7 separate regions of the Homo sapiens genome follow, and all the other regions are linked to region 1. Evidence: promoter capture Hi-C in 16 types of primary human blood cells and fetal thymus (Javierre and others, 2016). All regions are on one chromosome and are shown on one strand. Each heading gives the region's core, a stretch centred on a gene start or on the middle of the fragment in contact. The rest is flanking DNA. Distances are from core to core; before and after follow the strand shown.

The links. The method cuts DNA at HindIII sites, captures the fragments that hold promoters and counts their contacts. A CHiCAGO score of 5 or more calls a contact.
Region 2: a fragment that was not itself captured here is called in contact with the fragment with the promoter of SIGLEC8 in region 1 in 1 of 17 cell types (monocytes); the score reaches 5.9 in monocytes.
Region 3: a fragment that was not itself captured here is called in contact with the fragment with the promoter of SIGLEC8 in region 1 in 3 of 17 cell types (M2 macrophages, monocytes and neutrophils); the score reaches 9.7 in M2 macrophages.
Region 4: the fragment with the promoter of SIGLEC9 here is called in contact with the fragment with the promoter of SIGLEC8 in region 1 in 3 of 17 cell types (neutrophils, fetal thymus and erythroblasts); the score reaches 13.5 in neutrophils.
Region 5: a fragment that was not itself captured here is called in contact with the fragment with the promoter of SIGLEC8 in region 1 in 2 of 17 cell types (neutrophils and monocytes); the score reaches 11.4 in neutrophils.
Region 6: the fragment with the promoter of SIGLEC7 here is called in contact with the fragment with the promoter of SIGLEC8 in region 1 in 12 of 17 cell types (neutrophils, monocytes, non-activated CD4 T cells and 9 more); the score reaches 16.6 in neutrophils.
Region 7: a contact is called between a fragment that was not itself captured here and the fragment with the promoter of SIGLEC8 in region 1, in 2 of 17 cell types (monocytes and total B cells). The highest score is 6.5, in monocytes.

Annotation. Positions count from the first base shown.
Region 1 is chr19:51,456,013-51,460,249 of GRCh38, reverse strand. SIGLEC8 (sialic acid binding Ig like lectin 8) reads left to right here and starts at 1,796. Exons shown (of 7, transcript NM_014442.3): 1 at 1,796-2,316; 2 at 2,511-2,789; 3 at 3,019-3,066. The coding sequence starts at 1,863. The HindIII fragment of the contact is 20,005 bases long and covers 55-4,237 here.
Region 2 is chr19:51,842,511-51,846,747 of GRCh38, reverse strand. It overlaps a transcript of ZNF577 not described here. Among named protein-coding and RNA genes, the nearest start is that of ZNF577, 43 kb to the left of the region's middle. The HindIII fragment of the contact is 5,979 bases long and covers 1-4,237 here.
Region 3 is chr19:51,820,625-51,824,861 of GRCh38, reverse strand. FPR3 (formyl peptide receptor 3) reads right to left here. Exons shown (of 2, transcript NM_002030.5): 2 at 1-1,123. The coding sequence starts at 1,113. The coding sequence ends at 52. It also overlaps a transcript of ZNF577 not described here. Among named protein-coding and RNA genes, the nearest start is that of FPR3, 28 kb to the right of the region's middle. The HindIII fragment of the contact is 5,603 bases long and covers 1-4,237 here.
Region 4 is chr19:51,122,792-51,127,028 of GRCh38, reverse strand. SIGLEC9 (sialic acid binding Ig like lectin 9) reads right to left here and starts at 2,123. Exons shown (of 7, transcript NM_014441.3): 1 at 1,634-2,123; 2 at 1,154-1,432; 3 at 901-948. The coding sequence starts at 2,054. The HindIII fragment of the contact is 17,590 bases long and covers 1-4,237 here.
Region 5 is chr19:51,785,297-51,789,533 of GRCh38, reverse strand. No RefSeq gene overlaps it. Among named protein-coding and RNA genes, the nearest start is that of FPR3, 7.7 kb to the left of the region's middle. The HindIII fragment of the contact is 5,296 bases long and covers 1-4,237 here.
Region 6 is chr19:51,140,168-51,144,404 of GRCh38, reverse strand. It overlaps SIGLEC7 (sialic acid binding Ig like lectin 7), which reads right to left and starts at 2,104. Exons shown (of 7, transcript NM_014385.4): 1 at 1,603-2,104. The coding sequence starts at 2,035. It overlaps LOC124904749 (a long non-coding RNA gene), which reads left to right and starts at 3,895. Exons shown (of 3, transcript XR_007067310.1): 1 at 3,895-3,981. The HindIII fragment of the contact is 9,764 bases long and covers 1-4,132 here.
Region 7 is chr19:51,751,861-51,756,097 of GRCh38, reverse strand. It overlaps FPR1 (formyl peptide receptor 1), which reads left to right and starts at 4,220. Exons shown (of 2, transcript NM_002029.4): 1 at 4,220-4,237. The HindIII fragment of the contact is 324 bases long and covers 2,826-3,149 here.

The DNA.
Region 1 (4,237 bases), core at 547-3,046:
AGTAGAGTTTGATTTTCTGTGTATACAAAGTCTTCAGAAAAACGTGCAAAAGCTTAGTAAATGCAGCCTGCTCAGATAATAAAACTATATAGAAAAGCATTGAGGCAATTTGCACCAAAGTGAGGCTAGGGGATCGTTTGGGAGGGAGTGGGGTGTGGCCAATAAGAAGGAGAAACAAATGAGCAGCGCTGGGGACTTTGTCAATGTGCCATTTCTAGGAGGGGGCTCGTTGTATGTAAATCACTGAGGTCTTCTTTGGGGGTTGTTTTTATCTATATTTCTTATATTTACCCCCCAAAAAATGTTTCAAGAAAATTGACCTGAGTCTAAGGAGGCTCCGCCTCCCAGGATCCCCCTTAACTTCTTCCCAGCCCCCAGCCACACAGTTTAAAATAATCTGTTGAGGCCAGGCACGGTGGCTCACACCTGTAATCCCAGCACTTTGGGAGGCTGAGGTGGGTGGATCATGAGGTCAGGAGATCCAGACCATCCTGGTCGACATGGTGAAACCCCGGCTCTACTAAAAATACAAAAATTAGCTGGATGTGGTGGCGTATGCCTGTAATCCTAGCTACTTGGGAGGCTGAGGCAGGAGAATCGCTTGAACCAGGGAGTCAGAGGTTGCAGTGAGCCGGGATCGCGCCACTGCACTCCAGCCTGGCGACAGAGAGAGACTCCGTCTCAAATAATAATAATAATAATAATAATAATAATCATCATCATCATCATCATCATCATCATCATCTGTTGAATTCAGGTGCACATTTCTTCTCTCAAGAAATCCTGCCCATCGCTGAAGGTGCACACCCCAGGGCTGGTGTCCTCGTTCCATGACACCTGTTCACCTGGACCCCTGGAAGCAGAGCCTGCAGGAGCAAAGCCCCAGGGCTGACAGACCCCGCCTGCTGTGCAGTAACCAGGGGAAGTGTGGCTGAGTAAGATACGGGTGGTGAAGAAACCCATTCTGATACCCAGATAGCTGCAACAAAGGGAGAAGTGTGTGCCCTTTTCAAATTGACCCTTTCCCTTCTGACATTTCTCCCTTCCAAACCCCACAGTACAACAGTTACAGCCTCAGTTTCCCAGGCCTCCTGCGAGCCAGGCTTCCCCCCGCCCCCCGTCCTTCGTGTGTATCAACATGCAGAATCCTCACCTCCACAGCCCCGTGTCCCTCTGCTCAGGCCTCCTGAGACTGAACCCCTGACCTAGGGGAGAACGACCCCACCTTGCCTGTGCCCCCCACTGAAGCTCCCGTCCTGGGGAGCTCAGACGTCAGGAGCCTCCGTGTCTCCCCTCTGCACAGTGACTCCTTGAGGACAGTGTCTGGCTCTGCTCTGTTGACCTCGTTGTGTAAAGAGGAGGTGCCCACTTCGTTGCTGCTGAGAGAGGGAGGAGAGGCTGCCTGCTCACCTCACCTGCACCCCAGTCTCTCATGGCCCTGAGTTCCACCTTTGGCTGGTATGACCTCCACAAACAGTGACAGCCCCGGGGGTGATTCAGGGGTCTGGCCAGATGGGACCCAATTTCACCTTGCAGAAAATGTTACCCAAATGGAAGGGCAAGTCCGGGAAGCAAGAAAGAGGTTGGGCCCTGCATAGGGTGGGAATCTGGATGAGTTTCTCACCCTCTCTGGCCTCAGGGTTCCCAGGAGTGGAAATGGGGTGGTGGACAGTGGATCTCCCAGGACTGACCCGGCCCTGACAGTGTCTGTGTGTGAAGTTCCTCCTCTGAGGAGGTCACTTTTCTGACTTCACCCCCAACCTCCTGCGGGACCTCCCCTAAGTCTTGAGACCTCAGTTTCTGAGAGAAGAACCCTGAGGAACAGACGTTCCCTGGCGGCCCTGGCGCCTTCAAACCCAGACATGCTGCTGCTGCTGCTGCTGCTGCCCCTGCTCTGGGGGACAAAGGGGATGGAGGGAGACAGACAATATGGGGATGGTTACTTGCTGCAAGTGCAGGAGCTGGTGACGGTGCAGGAGGGCCTGTGTGTCCATGTGCCCTGCTCCTTCTCCTACCCCCAGGATGGCTGGACTGACTCTGACCCAGTTCATGGCTACTGGTTCCGGGCAGGAGACAGACCATACCAAGACGCTCCAGTGGCCACAAACAACCCAGACAGAGAAGTGCAGGCAGAGACCCAGGGCCGATTCCAACTCCTTGGGGACATTTGGAGCAACGACTGCTCCCTGAGCATCAGAGACGCCAGGAAGAGGGATAAGGGGTCATATTTCTTTCGGCTAGAGAGAGGAAGCATGAAATGGAGTTACAAATCACAGTTGAATTACAAAACTAAGCAGCTGTCTGTGTTTGTGACAGGTAAGGCACGGGCTCCAGCACAGGCCACAGGGGAAGGTCATGAGGGGCTGAAAGGCAGGGCTGGGATGGGGCCTGGGAGGGGGTTGGGATTGAAATAAGTCGGTCTCCGGGGAGGAGCTGGACCAGAGCTTGAGCTTCCTCCAGGGCTGCACCTGAAATACCTCCTCCTGATCCTGTGTCCCCATCTTCACCAGCCCTGACCCATAGGCCTGACATCCTCATCCTAGGGACCCTAGAGTCTGGCCACTCCAGGAACCTGACCTGCTCTGTGCCCTGGGCCTGTAAGCAGGGGACACCCCCCATGATCTCCTGGATTGGGGCCTCCGTGTCCTCCCCGGGCCCCACTACTGCCCGCTCCTCAGTGCTCACCCTTACCCCAAAGCCCCAGGACCACGGCACCAGCCTCACCTGTCAGGTGACCTTGCCTGGGACAGGTGTGACCACGACCAGTACCGTCCGCCTCGATGTGTCCTGTGAGTGCTGGACCAAGATGCCCAGGTCCCTCATGGGTTGGGAGGTGTTCCTGAGGGCAGGGGATGGGGTTCAAGCCTGGACACTGGGTTCTGGGTCCCAGAATCTGGGCTGGGAGTGGGGTCAGGAGAATGCCGACTCCATTTTCCCTGTATTTGCAGCTCCTGGGAAGACAGGGCCAATGTCCCCAGTCCTTATAGTAATGTGGGTCTTCATGTCTTTCTGTCCCAGACCCTCCTTGGAACTTGACCATGACTGTCTTCCAAGGAGATGCCACAGGTAGGACAGAGCCCCCTCCCTGGGGTTGGGGGAGCAGGGCCTTCAGCTCAGGATGGGGCTGGGTCTCTCCTCATCCTGGAATCACTTTGGGAAACAGAGCTGCCACTGTGCGTGAGCCCAGGGCACAAGAGCCCACATCTCCAGCCCGCGTGACCATCTGAGCCCCTGTCCCCATCCTGTCCCTGCTCCCCTTAGACTCCTCCACACACCCCTTCCTTGGCCCCACAGCAAGGACAGGGTGACATTCACACAGCTGGATCAGACTCCCAATTTTTTTGGTTTTTGTTCGTTTTTATTTTGGGACCAGACTTTCAAGTTTCTTGTCAGGCATCTCCTGAATACTTCCTCTGTCTGATCTTTCTGTTTTCCCAGTAGTTTCGATCTAAGTACTTCTGCCCAGATGATACAGTCACATGGGCAGAAATTCAAAATGCACAGCAAAGTCTGTCCTCCAGTGCCCATCCCCCTCCACGGAACTGACCAGCGTCCGTCCAGGCTGCCCTGAGTCTTGGTTTGTGCACCTGGAGGATCTCAGAGGTGGTTTGACATCGTAGTGAGACTGTCCACCCCGTCCTCTAGGACCGTGTGTGATTTCACTGCACAGATGGACTCTGACTTTGTGGCATCCCTTAAGGAAAATCATGGCACAAATATCCTTCCGCAGAAACTGTGCAGTGGATAGTCTTGTATCTACTTCCACAGGAATATCTAAGTGTATGGGATAAATTCCTAAAAGCAAAATATACCAGTGTCGTATGTTGTTTCTAATTTTGAAAGATGCAGTGAAGTTGTTCTCAATTAAAAGTGGACAAGTTTACATTCCCAGCACTGAGTGTGCGTTTTCCTGCACTTCAGTCTATGTCTGTGTGTCAGTCCCTCTCACTAGTCTCTTTCTGTGTCCTTCCTCTTTCTCTGGATCCATTTGTCTCTCTGACCCTCTGTCTCCTTTTATTATTATTATTATTATTATACTTTAAGTTTTAGGATACATGTGCACAACGTGCAGGTTTGTTACATATGTATACATGTGCCATGTTGGTGTGCTGCCCCCAGTAACTTGTCATTTAGCATTAGGTATATCTCCTAATGCTATCCCTCCCCCCACCCCACAACAGTCCCCGGTGTGTGATGTTCCCCTTCCTGTGTCCATGTGTTCTCATTGTTCAGTTCC
Region 2 (4,237 bases), core at 649-3,148, 390 kb before region 1:
AGTAGGGGGAGAATGCAAATTCTCTTCTTGTTTTTTTTTTGAGATGGAGTCTCGCTCTGTGGCCCAGGCTGGAGTGCAGTGGCGCGATCTCGGCTCACTGCAACCTCTGCCTCCCGGGTTCAAGTGATTCTCATTCCTTAGCCTCCCAAGTAGCAGTGATTACAGGCGTTTGCACCACACCTGGCTAATTTTCTGTATTTTTAGTAGAGACACGGTTTTGCTATATTGGCCAGGCTGGTCTCAAACTCCTGGCCTCAAGTGATCCACCGGCCTCGGCCTCCCAAAGAGTTGGCATTACAGGTATTAGCCATGGCACCCAGCCAATATCTCTTCTTTTAAGGTCACTAATTCCATATTGAAGGCCCACCCTCATGACCTCATCTAACCCTAGTTACCTTCCAGTGACTCATCTGCAAATACGTATTAATAGATACTTGACAAAAGGTAGCTATTATTATGCAAATGTATACCTTTTATTTCTTATAGAGACAAGAACTCACTGTGTTATACAGGCTGGTCTCAAATAAAAATTTATTTGTTTTTAGAAATAAAAAATTAGCTGGGCATGGTGGACTAATTAGCTGGACACACATGTAGTCCCAACTACTCAGGAGGCTGAGGTGGGAGGATTGCTTGAGCTTGGGAGGTTGGGGCTGCAGTCAGCCATGACAGTGCCACTGCACTCCAGCCTGGACAACAGAGCAAGACTCTGTCTCAAAAAAAAAAAAATAGAACCACCATATAATGCAGCAATCCTACTACTGGGCACATATCGAAAGGAAATGAAATCAGCACTTTGCAGATATAGCTGCACTCCCATGTTCATTGCAGTGTTATTCACAATAGCCAAGAGAGGTAATCAACCTAGGTGTCCAACAACAATGAATGAAGAAAACGTGGCATATATACACAATGGAATACTCTTGAGCCACAAAAAAGAAGGAAATCCTGTCACTTGGTGACAACATAGATGAACTTGGAATACATTATGTTAAGTGAAATAAGCCTCACAGAGAAAGACAAATATTGCATGATCTCACTTATGTGTGAAATCTAAAATTATTGAATTCATAGAAATGGAGAGTAGAATGGTGGTTACCAAGGCTGGGGGAGGGAGAGGGTTGTGGAAATGTTGGTGAAAGAATAAAAAATTTCAGTTAGATAAGACATGAACTTTTATGTTTAAGAGATCTATTGTACAACATGGTGACTGTAGTAAATAACAAGGTATTGTATTATTTCTTTTCTTTTTTTTTTTGAGGCAGAGTTTTGCTCTTGTTGCCCAGGTTGGAGTGCAATGGTGCAATCTTCGCTGACCATAACCTCCACCTCCCGGGTTCAAGCGATTCTCCTGCCTCAGCCTCCCGGGTAGCTGGGATTACAGGCATACACCACCACGGATAATTTGGTATTTTTAGTAGTGACCGGGTTTCTCCATGTTGATCAGGCTGGTCTCAAACTCCGACCTCAGGTGATCCGCCTGCCTCTGCCTCCCAAAGTGCTGGGATTACAGGTGTGAGCCACCGTGCCCGGCCAAGTATTGTACTCTTGAAAATTGCTTAAGAGAATAGATTTCAAGTGTTCACACCACAAAAATATGGCAAGTATGTGAAGTAATACATATGTTAATTAGTTTGATTTAGCCATTCCACAGTATATACTTATTTCAAAACAACGTATTGTACTGATAAATACATACAATTTTATTTGTTAGGTATAGGAAATGAATTAATTTTAAAAAGAAAAGTCTTTTTATTTACGCGGACTTGCTCTTTATTATTTCTACTTTAAAACACATTTTTGTTTGAATTCATAGATGCTGACTTCTTAGAATGAGGCAGCTCCTGTAAAGGAAAAAAGTATATCTCATGTCCAGAAATTCATCTTTGTTGAGGATACCCTTGATGAGACATTATCAGAATTGCAGGACAAACAGATACTAAAAGTACTGGCCATCTTCTGAAAGCTCTTGAACATGACAAAGTTCCAAGTGAGGTGTTTATTTACTTCCCAGTAGATTTTTAGAAGTTTATAACCATATATGTAATCAAAGAGAAAAATGAATATAAGTACACTCTGGCTGGCAGGGATGTGGTTAGACTAGGAGACAGAATAAATGATCAAGAGTAGCCAGTTAGGAAGGGAGATCTATCTCCATGTCGTAGGGTCCTGAAAGGTGCTAATAATTAGACAATTGCCATATAAGTAGCAGGATCTAGAATTAAGTTGCAAACATTTTTGTGGCAGTACTGACAACCATCACAAGAGAATTTTTAAAAGTTACAAGATTTACTTTGTCCAGAAGGAGAAAGCACATAAAATCGTTGATATCAGTAAATATTTCCTGGGCATCCAGTGTGAAGAAATGTCTCTGATGGATCTTCCTCTTCCTCTTCAGTTTTTGTGTGCCAGCATATGGACCCAGTGAACAGTAATCTTTAAGGAAATGTGGGAGATATAAAAGGCACAGCTAGGAAACTTAAAATCTCTTCTTTATAAAAAGAACATAATAGTGCTTAAACAAGGGTTATTGTGCAGATTATTATGTTAATATATGTAAAATTTGTAGAATGATACATAGCACATAGTAAGAAGTCTGTTTTTCTTTATGAGTATCATCATTTAATTTGTAGCACAATTTCCAAAATGCAATTCTGACCGTAACTTACTTATGTAAAAAAAAAAAAAAAAAAAAAAGTGTAGTGGCTATCGAGTATCTTAAGGAAATGTGTACCCTTTGCTCCAAGACATGTTCCTGCTTTTCAAATGGGCATTTCTTCTCTTCAGCTTCTCCTGTCTTAATGAACTATTTGCATTTCTTTGAACGCAGAATGGTATTTAATACAGATACATATGTTGCCCCCTTCCAAGGAAGCCCCCATTTCTTCCACTTCTTCCTTTAGAACGCACTACTAATCATGCTACCAGCTTGTCTACCTCTTCAGAACAATTATGGCCTTACCTAATTGTGCTCACATATTAGCTTGAGCATACTTCTGTCTTAGTCCTTGCTAATCCATAATACCATGCAATACATAGGCTTTCTGCATAGGACTGTATTTGCTACTCTGTGCAAGATCAGAAACACTTGAAGGAAGGACTAACCTTTATTGTTTTTATTGTAATATGTATAATGAATTACATTAAATGCTCCTAAGGTGGGTTACAGATGGTTTTTAGGTAGTTTAAAGGTTTAAAAGACACTTTACATCGGGCAAATGAATGAAAGAGTAAACAAGTGAATGAAGAATGCACAAAGAAAAGATAGTTTTTAATGTATTCCACTCACAAAGTGCAAACCAAAACTAGGCACAGGAAAATCTTCGTTTGTGAATCTTTGTGGTAAAGATAAAGAGAATAATGTCCTACGAGTCTTATAGACTGAATTTTATTATATTAACTCCAGAATTTAAAAGGATTATGTTATTATAGGGTTTATCATCATTCAATGATGTGGCTGTTGACTTCACCTGGGAGGAGTGGAATCTATTAGACCCTGTTCAGAAGAACCTCTACCAGGATGTGATGTTGGAAAATTACAACAACCTAGTGTCACTGGGTAAAGACAACTTTCCTAAATATCTCACTGTAAGCCGATTAATTGCCTTTTTTTCTATTGCCACAATTTGTGGGTACTCTGATATCCTCAATGATTTTGGACTTTGACTTTTAGAACTTTTTTTACTTTATAATCGTACAGTGACCATATGTAATTTCACTTTCCAAATGAAAGGTTTCTGTTCTGCTGAGATGTATACTGTGCATTTCCTGAAACAGAACTTTTTCTCACAAGCTCTAATGCTGCTCAGATTCTCTGTGATTACCTCTTGACAGGTTGTCAAGCTACCAAGCCAGAAGCAATATTCCAGTTGGGGAAAGAAGAACAAGGAATAGTAGAGAGAGAATTCCCAAGTTGGTGCAGTCCAGGTGAGTGAAACCAATGCGATGGGAGTTAGTGGAACCAAAGTACTAGTTGGCCATTGATGGGTTGGCACCCTTGTTATTTTAATACATTTTCTCATGGTCTGTGAACCTTTAAGGGTGACTTAGAGTATAAGTGAAAAGAGGTCTTCAATATGAACAATTTCTCCTCCTCTTACTATCTGTCATAGTCCACTTGTGCTGCTATAACAAAATACTTGAGACAGGGTAATTTATAAATAATTGAAATTTATTTCTCACAGTTCTGCAGGCTGGGAAGTCCAAGATCAGGGTACCAGTATCTGGTATCTGCTGA
Region 3 (4,237 bases), core at 1,027-3,526, 360 kb before region 1:
TTCCGCTTAACGCAGGGTAGAAAGAGACAGAGCCCAAAAATATCCCCGACCTCACATTGCTTGTAACTCCGTCTCCTCAGGAGGTGAAGCAGAAGTGGTGTCTGTGTTGCTGGTCTGGGCTGAGTCAGGGACCTCAGTCAGGGCCCTCTCCAAACTAGTGGGCAAAGAGCGAATCAGTCTTTCTTGGAAGTTACGACCCATAAAGACGTAGAGAATTGGGTTGAGGCAGCTGTTAAAAAAGGCCAAGGAGCTTGTTGGGTTAATCAGGACAAGAATGATTTTGTATTTGCCATTTAACAACATCTCTTTGAGCCAGACTGCCATTAGAATGCCAATTAGTTCATAAGGGAACCAACAGATGAAGAAAGAAGCCACCACAGCAGCGAAGACACGTAAGGGACGGCTGGATTTAATCATGTGGTTTCTGTGAATTTTGGCAGCGATGATCCCATAGCAGACTGTGATGATGGACATAGGCACGCTGAAGCCAATAATGAAGTGGAGGATCAGAAAGACCTTGGCCATGGTAATGAACACGTTCAACCTCTCTACAGCAGTGTCACCCCAGAATGCAAAGTTGAAAATACAGTATGTGTCCCCATTCGTAGTACTTATTGTAGTCCAGAAGATGAAATTTGGTAAGGTAAGGACTATGGTGAAAATCCAGAGTCCCGTCATCACCCTCTTGGCCAGACTCATGGTGCGATGGTTCTGGGCCCAGGCTGGATGCAGGACACAAATACAGCGGTCCAGAGCAATGATGGTGATCAGGTAGACACTGACAAACAGGTTGATGTCTATCATAACATGAACTAACTTACATAGGAATGAGCCAAAAGGCCATTTTTCTCTCATGGCGACTGAGACCATTCGGAATGGTAGGATGGCACTGAAAGAGAAGTCAGCTAGGGCCAGGTTCAGGTAACAGATGGTGTTGACTGTGCGTGTCATCCGGAATCCAGCCACCCAGATCACAAGCCCATTGCCCAGGACCCCGAAGACAAAGGTGACTCCGTGGACTAGCAATGAGAAGATCCACAGAACGGTGTGGCCAGCAGGCTCAGGGAGCACCTCCTCAGTTTCATTCAGAGGAATGGAGAAGTTGGTTTCCATCTTCCCACACCTGAAACATTTCAGCAATGGCCATTTCTCAGCTGTGACACCATCTTACAATACAACTATTCATTAACTTCCACTGTAGCTCCTCCTCCTACCAGCAGACCCTCCCCAGTGAGCCTTGTGAATGGTTATAACATAAAATTGGCACTCTCTCGGAGTTCCTTTGGGAAACGATAGTTCTCTATATTCCCATCATTATTAATATGCATGCCACCTATCAAGCTGATTACCAAGAGGATTAAAGGGCTCTGTCCACCAGCGGAAATACTGAACTGAGAGTGTATGGACAATGGAAAATTGAGCATAGGCAGCTTCAGCTTCGTGAGGAAGGCACAAGACTCAGAGTCAGAAGGTTCACATCTGTGGCCTCCATCACTCAATGCAAACATGCTGGCAAGCTCTGCAACTTCTTTCGGCCCCATGCTCTCCCAGTCTCCCAGCTCCTGTCCCTCCCACTGTGAGGACCCTTGACCTATTTTTTAGTTGATATTTAATTTGAAGTTTTAGGGTTTGGATTGAGTTAGCTGAAGAGGATTTTGAACCATTACTTGTAATATATAGACATATATTACATGCTATAGGCCGGGCGTGGTGACTCATGCCTGTAACCCCAGCACTTTAGGAGGTTGAGGAGAGTGGATCACTTGAGATCAGGAGTTGGAGACTGGCCTGGCCAACATGGTGAAACTCCATCTCTACTAAAAATGCAAAAATTAGCCAGGTGTGGTGGCAAGAGCCTGTAACTCCAGCTACTTAGGAGGCTGAGGCAGGAGAATTGCTTGAACCTGGGAGGCAGAGGTTGCAGTGAGCCAAGATCGTGCCACTGCACTTCAGTCTGGATGTCAGAGTAGATTCCATTTCCCCCCACAAAAAAAAAGAGCAGAAATATATTACATCCTATAGATTCTGTGCTAGATGAAGTCAACAAAGAGGGCCCTATATTTACTTTCTCCCGTCTGCTTTTCATTGTCCCTACTTAGCATCCGTTGTATATCTTCAAGGTCTGTGGGATAAACAGAATGAGCATGAATATTTAGCTAGTATTTGTAGGGTTCTTATCAGAGACTATTCACTGTGTTAATTGCTACATATGGGTTGTAGTTTGGTCTGCATAGTAGCTCTGTAATATTCATTGTTTGTAGTTTCCACAGGAATGACTCAATGTTGAGAGCAATTGTGAAATCTGCTGGTCACTTAAGTAGGAAACAGTAGACAAAGATCTTTAATCTAGCTTAGTCTGACTTCTAAGCCCTTTCTCTATGCAACAATTCTGACAGATATTGCTGGTGATGCCCCCTCCCCCCACAAATAACTGTTCCTCATTTCTTCTCTGCAAATCAAATCGCAATTTTGTTCAGTTACTCACTCTTTTGGGGGAAGGTATCCCTCCTCCATCTTTGCGGGCATATCTTGATTTTCTAATTTGTTCTAACTAGAATTCCTTTTGCTTTGCAAGGGATTGCTTTATTGGTGGAAACATGACTAAATTCTGGGCAATAACACTATGGGAGGATATCCTGGCATCTTTCTGGGATCTATTTCCTTGCTTTTAAGAAACAGAATCACAAAATTACAGTCCCTGCCTCTGCACCAGGTCACATGGGAAGCTGTTGCATCCAACTCAACCCAAAGGTCTCTGTGTCCCTTGTGTCTTTGCCACTTGACCAAATTTGCTTATACTGTGGTCTGTGGGCTGTATCAGAAACATCCAAGGTATTTGTTAAAATGCATATTCATGAACCCAACTCTAGAATCTCTCTGTGTAAAAGCTACAGTGATTTTTATGGCCAGGAAAATTAGAGACTCTTCCTACCTTGGGATATCCAGCCTCTCTAAAAGTAACAGCAATTATACAGCACTTGTTCACAAATAATACTCATAATAACATTGTGGGCAGCCATCATTACCCCTTTTTGTACCAGAGGGAATTCATGGCCTTGGGGTTTTTGTAGGTTTTTTTTTTTCAGCATCATGTCCAGCCGGTCAGTGGAGGCAGCAAGATTTGAAATTCAGGATGAGCAACTTTAGAGCCACTACCGTTGCAACTCTAAAATGCTGCATTTGAAAGGAGTTCCCCAGATATTTCCAGCATGTGGTCATACCCTAGTATCATGGTTTTTTCCTCCTTTCCCTTTCTCTCTTCCTTCTTTTCTTCCTGTCATTACCAGTCACTTTCACTGAGGTCTTTCATGGGACATTGTTTAATGTAGCTCAAGGTTTCTCAACGTTGGCACTACAGACAATTGGGGCTGTGTAATTCTTTGTTGTGGGGGACTGTTCTGTGCACAGTAGGATATTTAGCAACACCCCTGGCCTCTATCCACCGATGCTAGTAGCAACTCCCCCTTCAGGAGTGACAACTGAAAGTGTCTATAGACATTGTCAAAGGTCCCGTGGGAGGCAAAACTCCCCCCAGTTGAGCATCACTGTTACAGAGTAAAGAACACTGGGCTTTGGGGTCAGTTAGATCGCTACTCTTATCGTTGGCACCTTGCCAATATGGGTTCTTGGTCAGTGATATCTCTTTGAGCCTCAGTTTTCTCCTCTGCAGAACAAGGACAGTTTTGTGGTGAAGTCTAACTTTCAGGTGAGGATTAAGTGAGACTGGACATGGAAATCTTCTAGGCTAGACTGAGTGTCTGTGACAAATGGGAACTTCTGGTCCTCACCAGGCTGTGTGCTGTGTCATGGGGCTCAATCCTGGGTCGTGCCTTTTGAAGCTCAAGGTCAGGACAAGAACAATGCTCATAGCAATAGTGGCTACTACTTATGAACATTACTCACATGCCAAGAGCTTCTCCTTTAACCCTAACAACTGCTCTCACAGCCTCTGCAGATGAGACGTGTTAATCTGTGTGAGCACTGAGCACACCTTGAGACACGGTGAATATTGACTAACCTTAGTTTTAATTAGTATAACCATTGTACACATGAGGAAGTTGACTTATATTGGTTACATTAATTATTTAAAGCCCCCAGTCAGAAAGGGGTAGAACCAGAGTTGGAGCTCAATCAGACTGATTTCAACAGAATTGTATGGTTAACCCTCTCCCATTCCCTAGTTCCTCAACAGACTCAGATTTTCTCTACCACTCTCCAAATATCCTAGAAGACATTC
Region 4 (4,237 bases), core at 874-3,373, 330 kb after region 1:
TGTAGAAAAAGAGACAGAGGGTCAGAGAGATACATAGATCTGGAGAAAAAGGAAGGATACAGAAAGAGACTGATGACAGCAACTGACACACAGACATAGACTGAAGTTCTGGAAACACACACTTTCACCACTCACTGCTGGGAATGTAAACTTCTCCCCGCTTCATCGAGAACAGTTTGGGCTTATCTTTCAAAATAAGAAAGAACATATAATGTAGCTACATTTTGCTTTTAGGAACTTAACCCACAGGCTTAGATATTCCTGTGGAAGTAGATACAAGATTGTTCTATCCTGCCGTAGGATGAAATTAGTGCCGTGATCTTCCATTAGGAGATGCCACAAAATCAGAGTCCATCCATGCAGTGGACTCACACACAGCCCTAGAGGAGGGTGCGGACAGTCTCACTACGGACGTCAAACCACCTCTGAGATCCTCCAGGTGTACAAACCGAGACTCAGGGCAGCCTGGATGGACAGTGGTTGGTTCTGGGGAGGGGGGCAGGCATCGGAGGAGAGCCTTTGCTCTGCAATTTGAATTTTTGCCCATGGACATTTATCACCTGTCCAGAAGTACTTAGATCAGAACTATCAGAAATAAACAGATAAGGGTGGAGATGTATTCAGGAGATACATGAGAAGGAGCCTCAAAGCCTGGTCCTGCTGTGTGAATGCCACCCTCTTCTTGTTTGAGGCTGAGGGGGGGGTGTGTGGGGGAGTCCAAGGGAGGTGATGGGAGGATGGGAACAAGTGGCCTTGGGGCCTAAGGATACAGAGGGGCCCTGAGTTCACCCACAAGGACATCCCTGTTTGCCAAAGTGAGTCCAGGTTGAGGAATAAGCCAGCCCCATCCTGACCTGAAGGCCCTGCTCCTCCAGCCCCAGGGAGGGAGCTCCATCCTACCTGTGCCGTCTCCTTGGAAGACAGTCATGGTCAAGTTCTGAGGCGGGTCTGGGACAGAAAGACATGGAGACCCGCATCACTGTGAGGGCTGGGGACACTGGCCCTGTCTGTCCCCAGGAGCCGCATAAACAGGGAAGGCAGAGCCAGTGTCCTCCTGACCCCACCACCAGCCCAGATTCCGGGACCCAGCACCCAGTGTCCAGGCTTGACGCTCACCCCATCAGGGACCCAGGCGTCCCGGCCCAGCACTCACAGGACACGTTGAGATGGACGGTCTTGTTCGTGGTCACGCTGGCCCCAGGGAAGGTCACCTGACAGGTGAGGCTGGTGCCATGGTCCTGGGGCTGTGGGATGAGGGTGAGCACCGAGGAGCGGGTGGTGGAGGGGTCCAGGGGGGACACGGAGGTCCCTATCCAGGAGATCATAGGGGGTGTCCCCTGCTCACAGGCCCAGGGCACAGAGCAGGTCAGATTCTGGGGGCAGCCGGACTCCAGGGTGCCTGGGATGAGGATGTTGGGCCTGTGGGTCAAGGCTGGTGAAGAGAGGGGGACTCAGGATCAGGTCAGAGGATCCATGGTGCAGCCCTGGGGGGAGCTCAGGCTCTGGTCCAGCTCCTGCCCTGAGCCAACTCGCTTCACCCTAAGCCCTCTCCTGGGGCAGGGGCTCCATCCCAGCCTTTCCCTGCCGCCCCCATGACCTTTCCCTGTGGCCTTTCCTGGAGCCTGTGCCTTACCTGTCACATTCACAGAGAGCCGGTGATGTTTATAATTCCATTTTATACTTCCTTTCTCCATACGAAAGAAGTATCTCCCCGCATCACTTCTTCTGGCATCTCTGATGCTCAGGGTGCAATTCTTGGTATGTGGGTCCCCAAGGAGGTGGAATCGGTCCCGAGTCTCCTCCCACACTGCCCGAGCTGGGTTGTTTGTGGCCACTGGAGCATCCTGGTCTGTATTGGCCCCTTCCCGGAACCAGTAGCCATGAACTACTGGGCCAGGGTAAATCCAGCCATGCGAGGGGTAGGAGAAGGAGCAGGGCACATGGACACACAGGCCTTCCTGCACCGTCACGGAACTCTGCATCGTCAGCAGTTTACTTGTCTGTCCTTCCGCCCTCTCCCTCCCCCAGAGCAGGGGCAGCAGCAGCAGCAGCATGTCTGGGGTTAGAGGTGCCAGGGCCGCGAGGGAACGTCTGTTCCTCAGGGTTCTTCTCTCAGGAACTGCGGGCTCAAGACTTAGAGGAGGCCCTACAGGAAGACAGGGGCGAGGTCGGAACAGTGACCTCCTCAGAGGAGGAACTTTACACCCAGACACTGTCAGGCCCGGGTCAGCCCTGGGAGATCCACCGTCCACCACCCCATGTTCACTCCTGGGTCCCTGAGGCCAGAGCGGGAGACAGACTCACCCAGATTCCCACCCCATGCAGGGCCCACCCCACCTCCTGCCTCCCTCTCAATGCCCTTCCCCTTAGGTGACATTTTCTGCAGGGTGAAAATGAGTCCCATCTGGCCAGACCCCTGAGTCAGAGGCTGTGGATATCTGCGTAGCTCAGAGGTGGGACTTGGGGCCATGAGAGATGGGGGTGCAGGTGGGGTGAGCAGGCAGCCTCTCATCCCCCCCAAGCAAGCACGAGGTGGGCACCCCCTTTCTGCACAACGAGGTCAACACAGCAGAGCTGGACACTGTCCCCAAGGGGTCACTGTGCGGAGGGGAGACATGGAGGCTCCTGACGTCTGAGCTGTCCACGGCAGGAGCTTCAGTTGGGGGGCACAGGCAGGATGGGGTCACTCTCCCGTAGGTCAGGGGTTCAATCTCAGGAGGACTGAGCAGAGGGACATGGGGCTGTGGAGGTGAGGATTCTATGTGTTGATACACGCCAAGGACACAGAGGGGAGCCTGGCTCGCAGGAGGTCTGGGAAACTGAGGCTGTGACTGTTGTACTGTGGGGCTTGGAAGGGAGGAAATTCGGAAGAAAAGGGGCAGATTTCAAAAGGGAAGATATTTCTCCTTTCCTCACTGCACCACGAAGGGTTTCTTCACCACCGATGTCTCGCTCAGCCACACTTCCCTGGTTACTCCAGAACATGAGGGATCAGCTGGCCCTGGGGCTTTGCTTCTGCAAGCTCTGCTCCCAGGGGTCCCGGTGAACAGGAGATGTGGAGTGAGGACACCAGCCCCGGGGCATGCACCCTCCGCGATGGGCAGGATTTCATGGGAGAAGAAACATGCACCTGAATTCAGCAGAAGATTTTTTGTAACTGTGTGGCTGGGCTGGGAGGAACTGGGAGTATCCTGTGTGGTGGAGCCTCCTTAGACCGATGTCAGTTTTCTAGAAATATTTTTGGGAGAAATATAAGCCATATAGATAAAAATGTCTTCCCCCCAAGAAAAAATCTCAGCGGTTTACACATATGAACATGCTTAGAGAAACAGAACACTGGGGATGCCGCAACACCTCCTCTTTGTTACCCCACTTCCTGTCAGCCACACCCCACTTCCTCCTGAAGCAGCCCCAGCCTCACTTTAACGCTAATGGTCTCCATGCTTTTCTAGGTAGTTTTATCATCTGTGCACGTTGCCGTGAATACCTCAGGCCCCCATGTTTGCCCAGTCGCTCCCTGGGAAGTTGCAGCATCTCAACTGCAATGGTCAGAAGGGCTGAGCCATGGCTGACAGTGTTGTCCTGCATCTGTTCTGCAGGGCTGGGTGTCCACATCTGAGTTCTGTCTTGAGCAGGAGGGGCTCAGTCAGGCCTCTCAGCACTGCTCCCCTGGGGCCCTCCACACCTGCAGAGCCAACACGGGCCTCAGATTAGCATCGGCCACTTCAATTCTAACTCAGGCGGGACAGGACAGCTCAGCCCCACCTGGAACTCGGGGAACAATCCTTCGGCTTCCCTAGAAAAGAGCAGGCCTGCTCACCTGGAGTAGTAGCTCCAGGTGAGGCCATGGGGGTTGGGGGGAAGCCAGTGCCCAGGATGGCCCCCTGATCAGGTGAGAACCAGGGGCCAGAAGCCCTCCTGCTTTTCACTCACACATCTGTAGCCAGAGGGGCTTCCTGGGAAAGGGTAGAAGCGTGTGAGATTCTGTTCCCAGGCCTCCACCCCTCTGACAGCCCAAACACCCGACTAGGCTGCCTGCCTCAGCAGCTGTCCTGCAACTCACTCTGCACAGAGGCTCAGGGAAATGTGCTGAAATCGCAGTGGGTGGTGAGCCCAACAGGTCAATGCTCCTCCGTCCCAGCCCCTATCTGAGGCAGCTCCAGGCCCCCGGGTGCTGAGAGCTGGGAGGAATTCAGTGTTCTTCCCTCTCAGGACCAGCTCAGCCGGGCGGGGTTGG
Region 5 (4,237 bases), core at 1,040-3,539, 330 kb before region 1:
CAGTGTAGCCACCTGTGTGCAATACCACCCTTGGGGAGCTACAGCACCTGACTTCAGCCCCTGAGAGCTGCTGCATCAGCTACACCCAGCAAAGCCATGATGGTGGTTCTGCCCAGAGCTGTTGTGGCCCAACCCCAGCTCCAATGTGTCCAAAAAGCAGAACATGGAGTCAAAGAACATTATACTGAGGCCTTAAAATGTATTTGCCACATTGTTTTGGACTTCCTCAGGATCTGGTTCCCCTTTCTTCCTTCCTATTTCTCCTTTTTGATATGGGAATGTCAATCCTAGATTGTCCCACCACTATATTTTCGAAAGCACGTAATTGTCTGATTTAACAGGCTTACAGCTGAAGAGGAATTTGCCTCAGGATGAATCATACTTTGAGTCTCACCCATGTCTGACTGAGACGATCCTTAGATGATTTTTGCCCCATTGGAGTGAAAGTTCATTTTAAGACTCTTATTCTGTTTACTTGCCTCTAGGCATTTTTGTTAATCATGGGCCATTTCGTAGCAAGAAAGAAAACCTACTTATGTTTTGGTTTTTTGTTTTTTTTTTTTTTTTTTTTAGATGGAGTCTTGATCTGTCAACCAGGTTGGAATACAGTGGCATGATCTCAGCTCACCGCAACCTCCACTTCCCAGGTTCAAGTGATTCTCCTGCCTCAGCCTCCTGAGTAGCTGGGATTATAGGCATGCGCCACCATGCTCGGCTTATTTCTGTATTTTTAGCACAGATGGGGTCTCGCCGTGTTGGCCAGGCTGGTCTCGAACTCCTGACCAGCCTGGTGATCCGTCCACCTCGACCTCCCAAAGTGCTGGGATTACAGGTGTGAGCCACCATACCCAACTGCTTATGTTTTAATAACGAGAGTTTATGGGAAACATGCAGAGGCATCCAGGAACCCAGTTTTAGGAAGAATAATTGGACTTCAAAAGACTTGCAAATGTGTTTGGCAATTAGTCTCTGTGGGGTCCTTTGCCTCTTTTTTTCTCTTGACATCTGGGTCCTTCTCCTTTATGCATAATGGTGTCCTCTGCCATTTCCCTTATTTTAATTCCCCCCTCCCAACCATCACACACACACAGTATTTTGGTTTCCTTGTGCCTCTTAGACACATCTATACTTCTTACCCTTCCTTCCTTGGGAATCTTCTAAAATGCTTCTTGTTATTAGGACCCAAAGATAAATTTTTATAAAATAAATCTGAACATATCTCGCCTCAGATCTAAAATTTTCAGTATTTTTTCATTTCATCCCTATCTTCCTGGCATGAGATGCTGTATTGTGAGACCAGGAGCTATGGCAGCTATCTTGGGGCCGTGAGGTGGCAATTTCCAGGAAAAAAAAAACACACCAAAATAGTGATGAAAAAGTGAAAAGATCAAAATAAACTTATTAAATGATATAATTTGGACAGAAAGTAATTTAGTACTACTCACTTGCAAAATTCTTGGAAAGCAAATAAACCATAAATGTTGTCTTTGGTTTAAGCCATTGTTAGGTGTAATTTTAAATTATAAACTACTTAAAATTGTAAACAGCCTTAATGACACAAAGCCTTGGGAATAATGCTTTTAGGTGGACTACCTTATTTCTGTCTCTGCTTCCCATTTATCTCCATACCACTCTGATACCCTTGGATAGAACCTAATATTTCAGAAAGCCCACCACCTCTTTGCACTAGAAACCTACAAATGAGCTTCCACTGGAGCCAAAAATTATGGGGTTAATCTTGGGGTGCCTGGGTGTGGATGCTCTGTCCTGTCAACTTCTCTGCCTCCCTTCAATCTCTCAGTGGTTTTGGTCTCCATCCTTCTCGTCTTCATTCTGCCTTTCATTGCTTCCCTCTAATTCTTCTGTTACTGGAAGGGGTCCTGATCCAGACCCCAAGGGAGGGTTCTTGATCTCGCACAAGGAAGAATTCAGCGTGACTCCATAGAATAAAGTGAAAACAAGTTTATTAAGAAAGTAAAGGAATAAAGCATGGCTATTCCATAGACAAAGTAGCCCTGAGGGCTGCTAGTTGGCCATTTTTATGGTTATTTCTTGATGATACGCTAAACAAGGGGTGGATTATTCATTCCTCCCCTTTTTAGACCATATAGGGTAACTTCCTGACGTTGCCATGGCATCTGTAACCTGTCATGGCACTGGTGGGGGTGTAGCAGTGAGGACGACCAGAGGTCACTCTCGTGGCCATCTTGATTTTGGTGGCTTTTGGCCGGCTTCTTTACTGCAACCTGTTTTATCAGCAAGGTCTTTATGACCTGTTTTTTTGTGCTGAACTCCTATCTCATCCTGTGACTTAGAATGCCTTCACTGTCTGGGAATGCAGCCCAGTAGGTCTCAGCCTAATTTTACCCAGCTACTATTCAACATGGAGTTGCTCTGGTTCCAGTGCCTCTGACATCATTACAGTACTTGCTCCTCTCTTTACCTTGACCCTTGGAGAGAGAAGGGTCCTGGACACCCAGATTCCTTGGCCCTTTAGGTTGAGAGGGTTGAATCTCTGCATCCCACAAAGACTGAGGTTGAGAAACACAGTCAGGTACTTTAGTTCCTAAATGGGCCCACAACAATCCACTGCTATTAAAACAAGTAGTATATTGGTGTGTTCTTAGGGCCATTAAAAATCAGAAGGAGCTCTGCTTTCTGTTTCCTGTTCCCCAACTGGTTTCAGTTCTCTTACTCCTCCTCCTGTCCCTTGGGCTAACTTCTGCTGTGAAAATTACATGACAGTGACTCTCTCCAGGAGATCAGGACCTAGAACTTCCCAGAGCAAGGACCCAGCTGGTGGAATATAAAATCCAGATGAAGAACATATCTCTGGGGATGGGGAGCTTGTTAAGGGCATACTTAATAGACGCTTTGGAGTACAATAGACTCTTTGGAGTGAGTAGAAGAATGTGAAGTTGAAGAATAATTTCTTTTCTTTTCTTTTTTACTTTAAGTTCTGGGGTACACGTGCAGAATGTGCAGGTTTGTTTCATAGGTATACATGTGCCATGGTGGTTTGCTGCACCCATCAACCTGTCATCTGCATTAGGTATTTCTCCTAATGCTATCCCTCCCCTAGCCCCCCAGCCCCCGACAGACCCCAGTGTGTGATATTCCCCATCCCTGTGTCCATGTGTTCTCATTGTTCAACTCCCACTTAGGAGTGAGAACATGTAAGAGATTCTAGGCAGGGCGCGGTGGCTCACACCTGTAGTCCCAGCACTTTAGGAGGCCGAGGCGGGTGGATCACGAGGTCAGGAGATCGAGACCATCCTGGCTAACACGGTGAAACCTGTCTCTACTAAAAATACAAAAAATTAGCCGGGCGTGGTGGTGGGCGCCTGTAGTCCCAGCTACTCGGGAGGCTGAAGCAGGAGAATGGCGTGAACCCGGCAGGGCGGAGCTTGCAGTGAGCCGAGGTTGTGCCACAGCACTCCAGCCTGGGCGACAGGAGCGAAACTCCGTCTCGAAAAAAAATAAATAAATAAAAACAAACAAAAAACCCTCAATCTAAGTTTTACCTCCTTTATAAAAACTAATCCAAAATGGATTACAGATTTAAATATTAAATGCAAAACTACTAACTTTTTAGAAGAAAACATAGAAGAAATAGTGAAGACTTAAGGCTAAGCAGGGAGTTCATAGACACGACACCAAAAGCACAATCCATAGAAGAAAAAAGTATAAATTGGACTTAATTAAAATGGAAAATATTTACTCTTTTGAAAGTTGCTATTCGGCTTCAGAGTCAATATAAAAATTTTAAAAACATAGCAAATCATGACATTCCCCTGCTCTTCATTCTCCAGTGGTTTCCAAATTTCTAACTCATGCTTACCAAGCTCTACCAGAACTGGCGCAGACATCATTCGGTGGAAATCTACTCCCCTTTCACAGAATAGCAGGTGAATGCAGAGGCTGTTTCAATAGATGAAGAGACAGAGAGTGAGAAATGCAAAGGCACTCAGATCAGTGATTGTAAAGATTGAGGGAAAAGGGTAATTTTGTGATTGACAGAAGGCAGCAATGAAGGTTATCAAGAGAATAAGTACAGTTTCATGGACTAGAATGGAGAGTGACTGAGAGGCTACTTTATCTTAGAGGCTCAGAAAACAATATCTTGAGGAGGTGACATGTGAGCTGAAATCAGAATTACATGAACTGCTAATGTGAAGTGTAACCACCCAATGGGTTCACCTTGCCGGCTGCCTAGACAGAGTCAATTTATCAAGGC
Region 6 (4,237 bases), core at 855-3,354, 320 kb after region 1:
TGGTGAAGAGAGGGGGACTCAGGATCAGGACAGAGGATCCATGGTACAGCCCTGGGGGAAGCTCAGGCTCTGGTTCAGCTTCTGCCCTGAGCCCAACTCGCTTCACCCTCAGCCCTCTCCCAGGGCAGGGGCCCCATCCCAGGCTTTCGCTGCCACCCCCATGACCTTTCCCTGTGGTGTCTCCTGGAGCCTGTGCCTTATCTGTCACATTCACAGAGAGCTGCTTCGTTTTGTAATTCCATCTTATCTGTCCTCTCTCCACCTGGAAGTAGTAGTTCCTCAAATCCCCCTTCCTGGCATCTCTGATGCTCAGGGAGCAGTTGTTGGTCTTCAGGTCCCCAAGGAGGTGGAATCGGCCCCGTGTCTCCTGCACTTTTCCATTTGGGATGTTTGTGGCCACTGGATTATTCCATTGTATATTGATCCCTTTCTTAAACCAGCATCCATGGACAGGGCTAGAGTCAGTTCAGTTGTAATAGGGTTAAAGGACACTGCAGGGCACAGAGACGCACTAGCCCTCCTGCACCATCACCAACTCCAGCACCTCCAGCCTGTATCTTGACAGTGGGGCCTGGGACGCTGTGGGGAAATGAGGCTCAGCCCAGCCCCGACTGTCCCTCTCTTCATTTGCCCACAAGAGAGGCAGCAGCATCTCTGAGACAGAGGGTTCCTGGGCTCCTTGTGTGAGCAGAGAAGTGGGAGGGAGAGGAGGGGCAGGGCTGTGGGACCCACAGGGGGCTGGAGAGGGGCTGGAGAGGAGCTGGAGACCTCAACCCAGCACGAAAGAGAAACTACAAACCCACATGCTATAGGAACTGGTTCCCTCTGCACAGAGTGAAGGAAACCCTGAAGCTCAGAGACCCTAGAGACCCACCCAGGGAGGAGAAGAGACCGTGTCCCACCTCCTACCTCCGGGCTTCCCTGGAGCACCAGGGCCTGCACCAGACACGTAGGTCCTGCCCTCCCGGCCTCTGGACCATCGTGGAGGTCCCTCCTGTCTTTTGAGCATCTAAATGTGGATCTCCGAGGACCTCAGGGCATGAGAGATGGAGGGGCCGTGTGCTGAGTCTCCCTGTCCAGGCTCAGGTGCCTCTGCTGCCCTTGGTTTGCGCCAGGAAGTGCTTCCTCCCTGGCCTGGCCTGAGAGAGTCACGGGGTTGTGTAGACCTAAGGCTCTCAACTGGGGAGGACTTAACCCCCCAGGACGTTTAACAATGTGTGGAGATAATTGTTATTGTCTCACTGCATGGGTGGAGTGGGTGCTTCTGGCATCTGGTGGGGAGAGGCCTGGGATGGTGCTAAACCCCGGCCATGCCTAGGACAGGCCCCAAAACAAGGAGTCATAAGGCCCCACATGCCACAATGCCAGCGTCAGAGGCAGGATGAGGATGTCAGGCCTGTGGGTCAGGGCTGGTGAGGGGAGGGGCCTGCAGGATCAGGAGGGGCATCCAAGGTGCGGTCCTGGGGAAGCTCAGGCTCTGGTCCAGCTCCTCTCCTGAGTCCATCACCCCCGGCCCCCTCCCAGGACATGTGTCCCGTCTCAGCCGTGCCCTAAAGCCCTCATCACATTTGCCTTTGGCCTCTCTTGGAGCCCGTGCCTTACCTGTCACGTTCACAGAGAGCTGGTCATATTTATAATTCCATTTTATATTTCCTTTCTCCATACGAAAGAAGTATCTCCCCGCATCACTCATTCTGGCATCTCTGATGCTCAGGGTGCAATTTTTGGTCTGTGGGTCCCCAAGGAGGTGGAATCGGTCCCGAGTTTCCTCCTGCACTGCCCAAGCTGGGTTGTTTGTGGCCACTGGAGCCTTCCAGCTTATATCATTCCCTGCCCGGAACCAGTAGCCATGAACTGGGTCAGAGTCAGTCTGGCTGTCCACTGGGTAGGAGAAGGAGCAGCGCACATGGACACACATGCCCTCTTGCACGGTCACGGAACTCTGCATCGTCAGCGAGTAATCCTTCCGGTTACTCTTCTGTCCTTCCACCCTCTCCCTCCCCCAGAGCAGGGGCAGCAGCAGCAGCAGCAGCATATCTGGGGTTGGAGGTGCCAGGGCCGCGAGGGAACGTCTGTTCCTCAGGGTTCTTCTCTCAGGAACTGCGGGCTCAAGACTTAGAAGAGGCCCTACAGGAAGTCGGTGGTGAGGTCAAAACAGTGACCTCCTTAGAAGAAGAACTTCACACACAGACACTGTCAGGGCTGGGTCAGCCCTGGGAGATCCACCGTCCACCACCCGACATTCACTCCTGGGTCCCTGAGGCCAGAGCGGGAGACAGACTCACCCAGATTCCCACCCCATGCAGGGCCCACCCCACCTCCTGCCTCCCTCTCAATGCCTTTCCCTTTAGGTGATATTTTCTGCAGGGTGAAAATAACTCCCATCTGCCCAGACCCCTGAGTCACAGGCTGTGGATGTCTGCGTAGCTCAGAAGTGGGACTCGGGGCCATGAGAGACAGGGGTGCAGGTGGGGTGAACAGGCAGCCTCTCATCCCTCCCTCAGCAGCCACGAGGTGGGCACCCCCTTTCTGCACAATGAGGTCAACACAGCAGAGCCGGACACTGTCCCCAAGGAGTCACTGTGTGGTGGGGAGACACTGAGTCTCCTGACGTTTGAGCTCCCCATGACAGGAGCTTCAGTGGGGGGCACAGGCAGGGTGGGGTCACTCTCCCCTAGGTCGGGGGTTCAGTCTCAGGAGGACCGAGCAGACGGACATGGGGCTGTGAAGGTGAGGATTGCGCCTGTTGATACACGCCAAGGACACGGAGGGGAGCCCAGCCTGCAGGAGGCCGGGGAAGCTGAGGCTGTGATTGTTGTATTGTGGGGCTTGGTAGACAGGAAAGTCATAAGGGAAAGGATCAATATGAAAAGAGCAGACACTATTCCCATCCTCACAGCTCTCTGAGCACAAGGACATTTCCCTTCACCACTGCTATCTCATGAGGCCTGGTTAGTGCAGAGTGTGAGGGGTCTGCTGGCCCTGGGGCTTTGCTCCTGCAGGAACTGCTCCTAGGGGTTCAGGTGAACAGGAGACGTGGAGCAAAGACACCAGCCCCGGGGCGTCCACCCTCAGTGATGGGCGCGATTTTCTGAGAGAAGAAACACGCACCTGACTTCAACAGAAGATTATTTTAAACTGTGTGACTGGGCTGGGAGGAAGTGGGAAAAATCCTGCAAGCTGCAGCCCCCTTAGATCCAGGCCAGCTTTTCTTGAAACAGTTTTTTTTGAGCGGGGAGAAACACAAGACATGTACATAAAAGTGTCCCCTAAAAACCAACTCAGTGATTCACACAAAATAAGCACCCTTGAAGAACTAGAACACAAAAGAACTGTCAAGTCTGTCCCTTGAAATGAAGAAAGAGATTTTATTAATTCATTCACCCTTACATTCCCCTTTCCTATTGGCCATGCCCCCGCTCCCTCCTGAAGGAGCCCCTAGCCTCACTTTAATGATAATAGTCTTCCTGCTGTTCTATGTAGTTTTATCATCGGCACATGCTGCCTTGAAAATTCTAACTTCACGTAGGTTTTCCTGAAGATGTTGTATACATAGAAAATCCCAGTCTGTTTTCTTCCATACAACTGCATTGATCTGCTCAGCCCACACTGTCCCCTAATTGTCCATAACCTAGAGATCATTTGGCTGTAACGATTGAGAGAGGAAGATGCTGGGTTTGGGCGTCCGAAGCCACTCCCCGCCCTCACCTCCAATCCCTGCATTTGCAGCTAGTATCTCATCCTGCAGACCAATCTGCCTCCTGGGCGCCTCCTCCTTGCCCAGCCACTCTCTCCCCATAAGGATATTTGCAGTATCTCAGTGGGCAGAAGTGTTACCGGATGGTGCCATGCAGTTCCAGGCTCTTGGTGTCTTAAACAAAGAATTGGATGAGACACACACAGACAGCAAAGCAAGAAGCAGCAGTTTATTAAGCACAGTATCACACTCTTGGAGAGGGAGAGCGAACTGATCTCTATGAGGTGAGATCAGCATTACTTTGGGTCTTTTTATGTTTGTTTGTTTGTTTTTTTGTTTTTCTTCGCTTCCCAAGGCTGCCAAATCTCTATCCAGTGTCTGCCTTTTTTCGGGGGGAAGGGGTGGTGGTGAGGTGGGGACGAAGTCACCCAAGCTTGAGTGCAGTGGCACAATCTTGGCTCACTGCAACCTCAACCTTTTGGGTTGAAGCGATTCTTCTGCCTCTGCCTCCCTGGTAGCTGGGACTACAGGCGCCCGCCA
Region 7 (4,237 bases), core at 1,738-4,237, 290 kb before region 1:
CAGATACCGCCTCCTCCTCATGTTTTCACACAGTTTTCCCTCTATGCCTGTCTGTGTCTGGATCTCCTCTTTTCATAAGGATATCAGTCATATTGAGTTGGGGCCCACCCTAATGACCTCAGTTTCAGCTAATTACCTCTTTAAAGGTTGTATCCCCAAATACAGTCACATTCTGACATGCTGGGGTGTATTGGTCAATTCTCATGCTGCTAATAATGACATACCCAAGACTGGGTAATTTATAAAGGGAAGAGGTTTAATGGACTCACAGTTCCATGTGGCTGGGGAGGCCTCGCAATCATTGCGGAAGGCGAAGGAAGAACAAAGGGACATCTTACATGGCAGCAGGCAAAAGAGAATGAGAACCAAGTGAAAGGGGAAACCCCTCATAAAATCGTCAGATCTCGTGAGACATATTCACTACCATGAGAACATTATGGGGGAAATCGTCCCCATGAAACAACTATCTCCCACCTGGTTCCTCCCACAACACGTGGGAATTATGGGAGCTACAATTCAAGATGAGATCAGGGTTGGGACACAGCCAAACCATATCATGGGGTGAGGGCTTCAACCTAAGAATTTGAAGGGGAATGTGACACAATTTAGTCCTTAACAGAGTTGTGGGAGAAGGTGAGGAGAGCAAAGGCTGCAGATGAGTTTGAAAGGAAACAGGAACCCAAAATGATGTGTCTGAACATCAAGGGCAGGTCTGAGCTAGAGACAGGGGTCTGGTGAATGTTAGCTGAGGTGTGGTTCAAGTTTTAAGCATGGATGGGTTCACCGCAGAGAACGTGAAACAGCAGATAGAGAGGTTTATGTAATTACTAAGATATTGATAATACTTATTGCACTGGAATTCATGCCAAGTGCTTTGTATCACTGATCTTATTTGTTCTGCTCCAGAAAACACCTCTGTAAGTATCATTGCTCTCAATTCACAGGTGAAGTGTCTGGGACCCAGTGCAGTTAAATCAGGGGTCAAATCTAGCCACCGCTTGTTTTTGTATGGCCTGAGAGCCAAGAATGGCTTTAATATTTCTTACCGGCTAAAGAAAATCAAATGAAGGGTATTTTGTGCCATGCAAAACTTATATGAAGTCCAATTGTCGTGTTTTAAATAAAGTTTTATTGACATACAGTCATGCTCCTCATTTACAACTTTGCTTGTGGCTGTTTTCAGGCTACAACAGCAGAGCCAAGGAGTTGTGATGGAGACCCTATGGCCTGCCAAATGAAATATATTGACCATCTGGCTCTTCATAGGAAATGTTTGTGGCCCAGTGCAGTGGTTCCGTCCTGTAATCCCAGCACTTTGGGAGGCCAAGGCAAGTGATTGTTTGAGGTCAGGAGTTCAAGACCAGCCTGGTCAACGTGGCAAAACCATATCTCTACTTAAAAAATACAAAAATTAGCCAGGCGTGGTGGCGGGCACCTGTAATCCCAGCTACTGGAGAGGCTGAGGCAGGGGAATCACTTGAACCTAGGAGGCAAAACTGCAGTGAGCCAAGATCACACCACCGTACTCCAGCCTGGGTGACACAGTGAGACTCTGTCTCAAAAAAAAAAAGTTGGGGGAAATGTTTGAGACCCCTGGATTAGCTGGCTTGTCCGGAGCTAGTGAACAGTAGTCCTGGGATTCTAGTCCAGGCAATCTGGCTTTACCACCTCAGTCCAGTGCTTTACTGGGAGGCTGTGCTGCTCGCCGAGGCCATTTCTCATGTTTCAGTTACCAGAAGAGTCAGGGACTTTTGCAGCATAGGCAGGAATACTCCCATTCCGGTCAACCCTAAGACATCTTCCCTTTTAGCCTTACGCAAACACAGAAGTGGAAGTCCATTTTAAGACTTTCGCTTTTTTCTTCACCATAGTCACTTTGGAACACACACTTGGCTCTATTTTTGCCCAACCTAGTGTGCTAATCACAGGCCATTTGGTAGCCAGGAAGAAAACCTACTTATGTTTTAGAAAAGAGGGCTCATGGGAAACAGGTAGGGGTGTCCCAGGACCCCCGTTTTAGGAAGAACAGTCAGACTTCAAAAGACCTACAAATTTTTCTGGCAATTACTCTCTGTGGAGTCCCTTGTCTCTTGTTTTCTCTTGACATTTGGGCCCTTCTCCTCTGTGCATAATGATGTCCTCTGCCATTCCCTTTATTTTAATCCCCTTACAAAGTGTTGGCTTCCATGTGACTCCTAGGCACGTCTTCATTTGTTACCCTTCATACCTTGGGAATCTTCTAAAATGCATCTGTTGTTATGATCCCAAGAAAATGTTTATAAAATACAAACACAAATGTTTATAAAGTACAAATGAACATATCACCCTTCTGATTAAAGATCTTCAGTGATTCTCCATCTCATCCCCATCCTCCTGGTGTGGGATGCTGGAGTGTAGCAGTCCCCAACATTTTTGGCACCAGGGACCAGTTTCATAAAAAACAATTTCTCCATGGGGTGGCGGGGTAGATGGTTTCAGGATGATTTAAGCACATTGCATTTATTGTAGACTTTATTTCTATTATTATTATTACATTGTAATACACAATGAAATAATTATACAACTCACAATGATGTAGAATCCGTGGGAGCCCTGAGCTTGCTTTCCCGCAACTAGACAGTCCCATCTGGGAGTGATGGGAGACAGTGACAGATCATCAGGCATTAGATTCTCATAAGGAGCACACAACCCAGATCCCTGGCATGCACAGTTCACAGTAGGGTTCACACTGTTATGAGAATCTAATGCCGCCACTAATCTGACAGGAGGCAGAGCTCAGGCAGTAATGCCAGCAATGGGGAGTGGCTATAAATACAGATGAAGCTTCTCTTGCTCACCTGCCAGTCACCTGCTGTGCAGCCCACTTCCTAACAGGCCACAGACCGGTATCGGTCTGTGTATTGGTCTATGGCCTGGAGGTTGGGGACCCCTGCTGTAATGTGAAGTCAGGAGCTGTGGTAGCTTTCTTGGAGCCATGAAGTGGCAATCCCCAGGAAAAAAAGTCACCATATTAGGGATAAAAAAGAGAAAAGATTAAAATGAATGTAGTTCTTGATGATATTTTCCAGATATAACCTAACCTAGTATTACCCTCTTGCAAAATTCTTGTAAAGTAAACCATAAATTTCGTCTTGGTTCTAAGCTAAGCTTGTCCAGCCCATGGCCTAAGATGGCTTTGAATGCAGCCCAACACAAATTCATAAACTTTCTTAAAACATTATCAGATTTTTGGGGGATTTTTTTTTTTTTTTTTTTTTTTAGCTCATCAGGTATCGTTAGTGTTAGTGTATTTTATGTGTGGCCCAAGACAATTCTTCTTCTTCCAGTGTGGCCCAGGGAAGGCAAAAGATTGGACACCCCTTGTTGAAGCCATTGTTAGGTGTAATTGTAAATTATAAATTACTTAGAATTAAAAACAGCCCGGCTCATGCCTGTAATCCCAGCATTTGGGGAGGCTGAGGCAGGAGGATCACTAAACCCAGGGGTCTGAGACATGCCTGGGCAACGTAGCAGGATACTGTCTCTAAAAGAAAAGAAAAAACAGTCTTAATGCAACAATGCCTTGGTAATAATGCTTTTAGAATCAGTGTCGTTATCTCTGATTCTGTAACTGTCTTACCATATTTCTCCATATCACTCTGATACCCTTGGAAGGATGCTTAACATTTCAGAAAAACGGTTATTTCTTTGGGCTAGAAGACTACAAATGAGCTTCCACAAGATCAGAGGATTATGGGGTTAATCTTGGTGGTGTGCATGGGTGTGGACGCGCTGTCCTGCCAACTGTCTCAACTTCCCCCACTCCCTTACCTCTCTCTGTGTTTCTGGTCTCCATCCCTCATGACTTCTTCTCTTCCTTTCATTGCCTCCCTCTGATTCTTCTCACCACAGTGCTTGCTGCTTTCTTTACCTTGACCCTTGGAGGGAGCAGGGGCCCGGACACTTGGATTTCTTGGCCCTTGTTGTTGAGAGCACTGAACCTCTGCATCCCACAGAGACTGAGGCTGAGAAATACAGTCAGGTACATGAGTTTCTAAACAGGCCCAGCCCACTGTCCTAATGCCATTAAAGCAGACAGTATATTGGTGTATTCTTGGGGCCATCAAAAATCAGAAGAAGCTCAGACTTCCTATTTCCTGCTACCCAGCTGGTTTTAGTTCCTTTACCCCTCCTCCTGTTCCTTGGTGTATGTTTTGCTGCAATCATTAGAGCCTGAGTCACTCTCCCCAGGAGACCC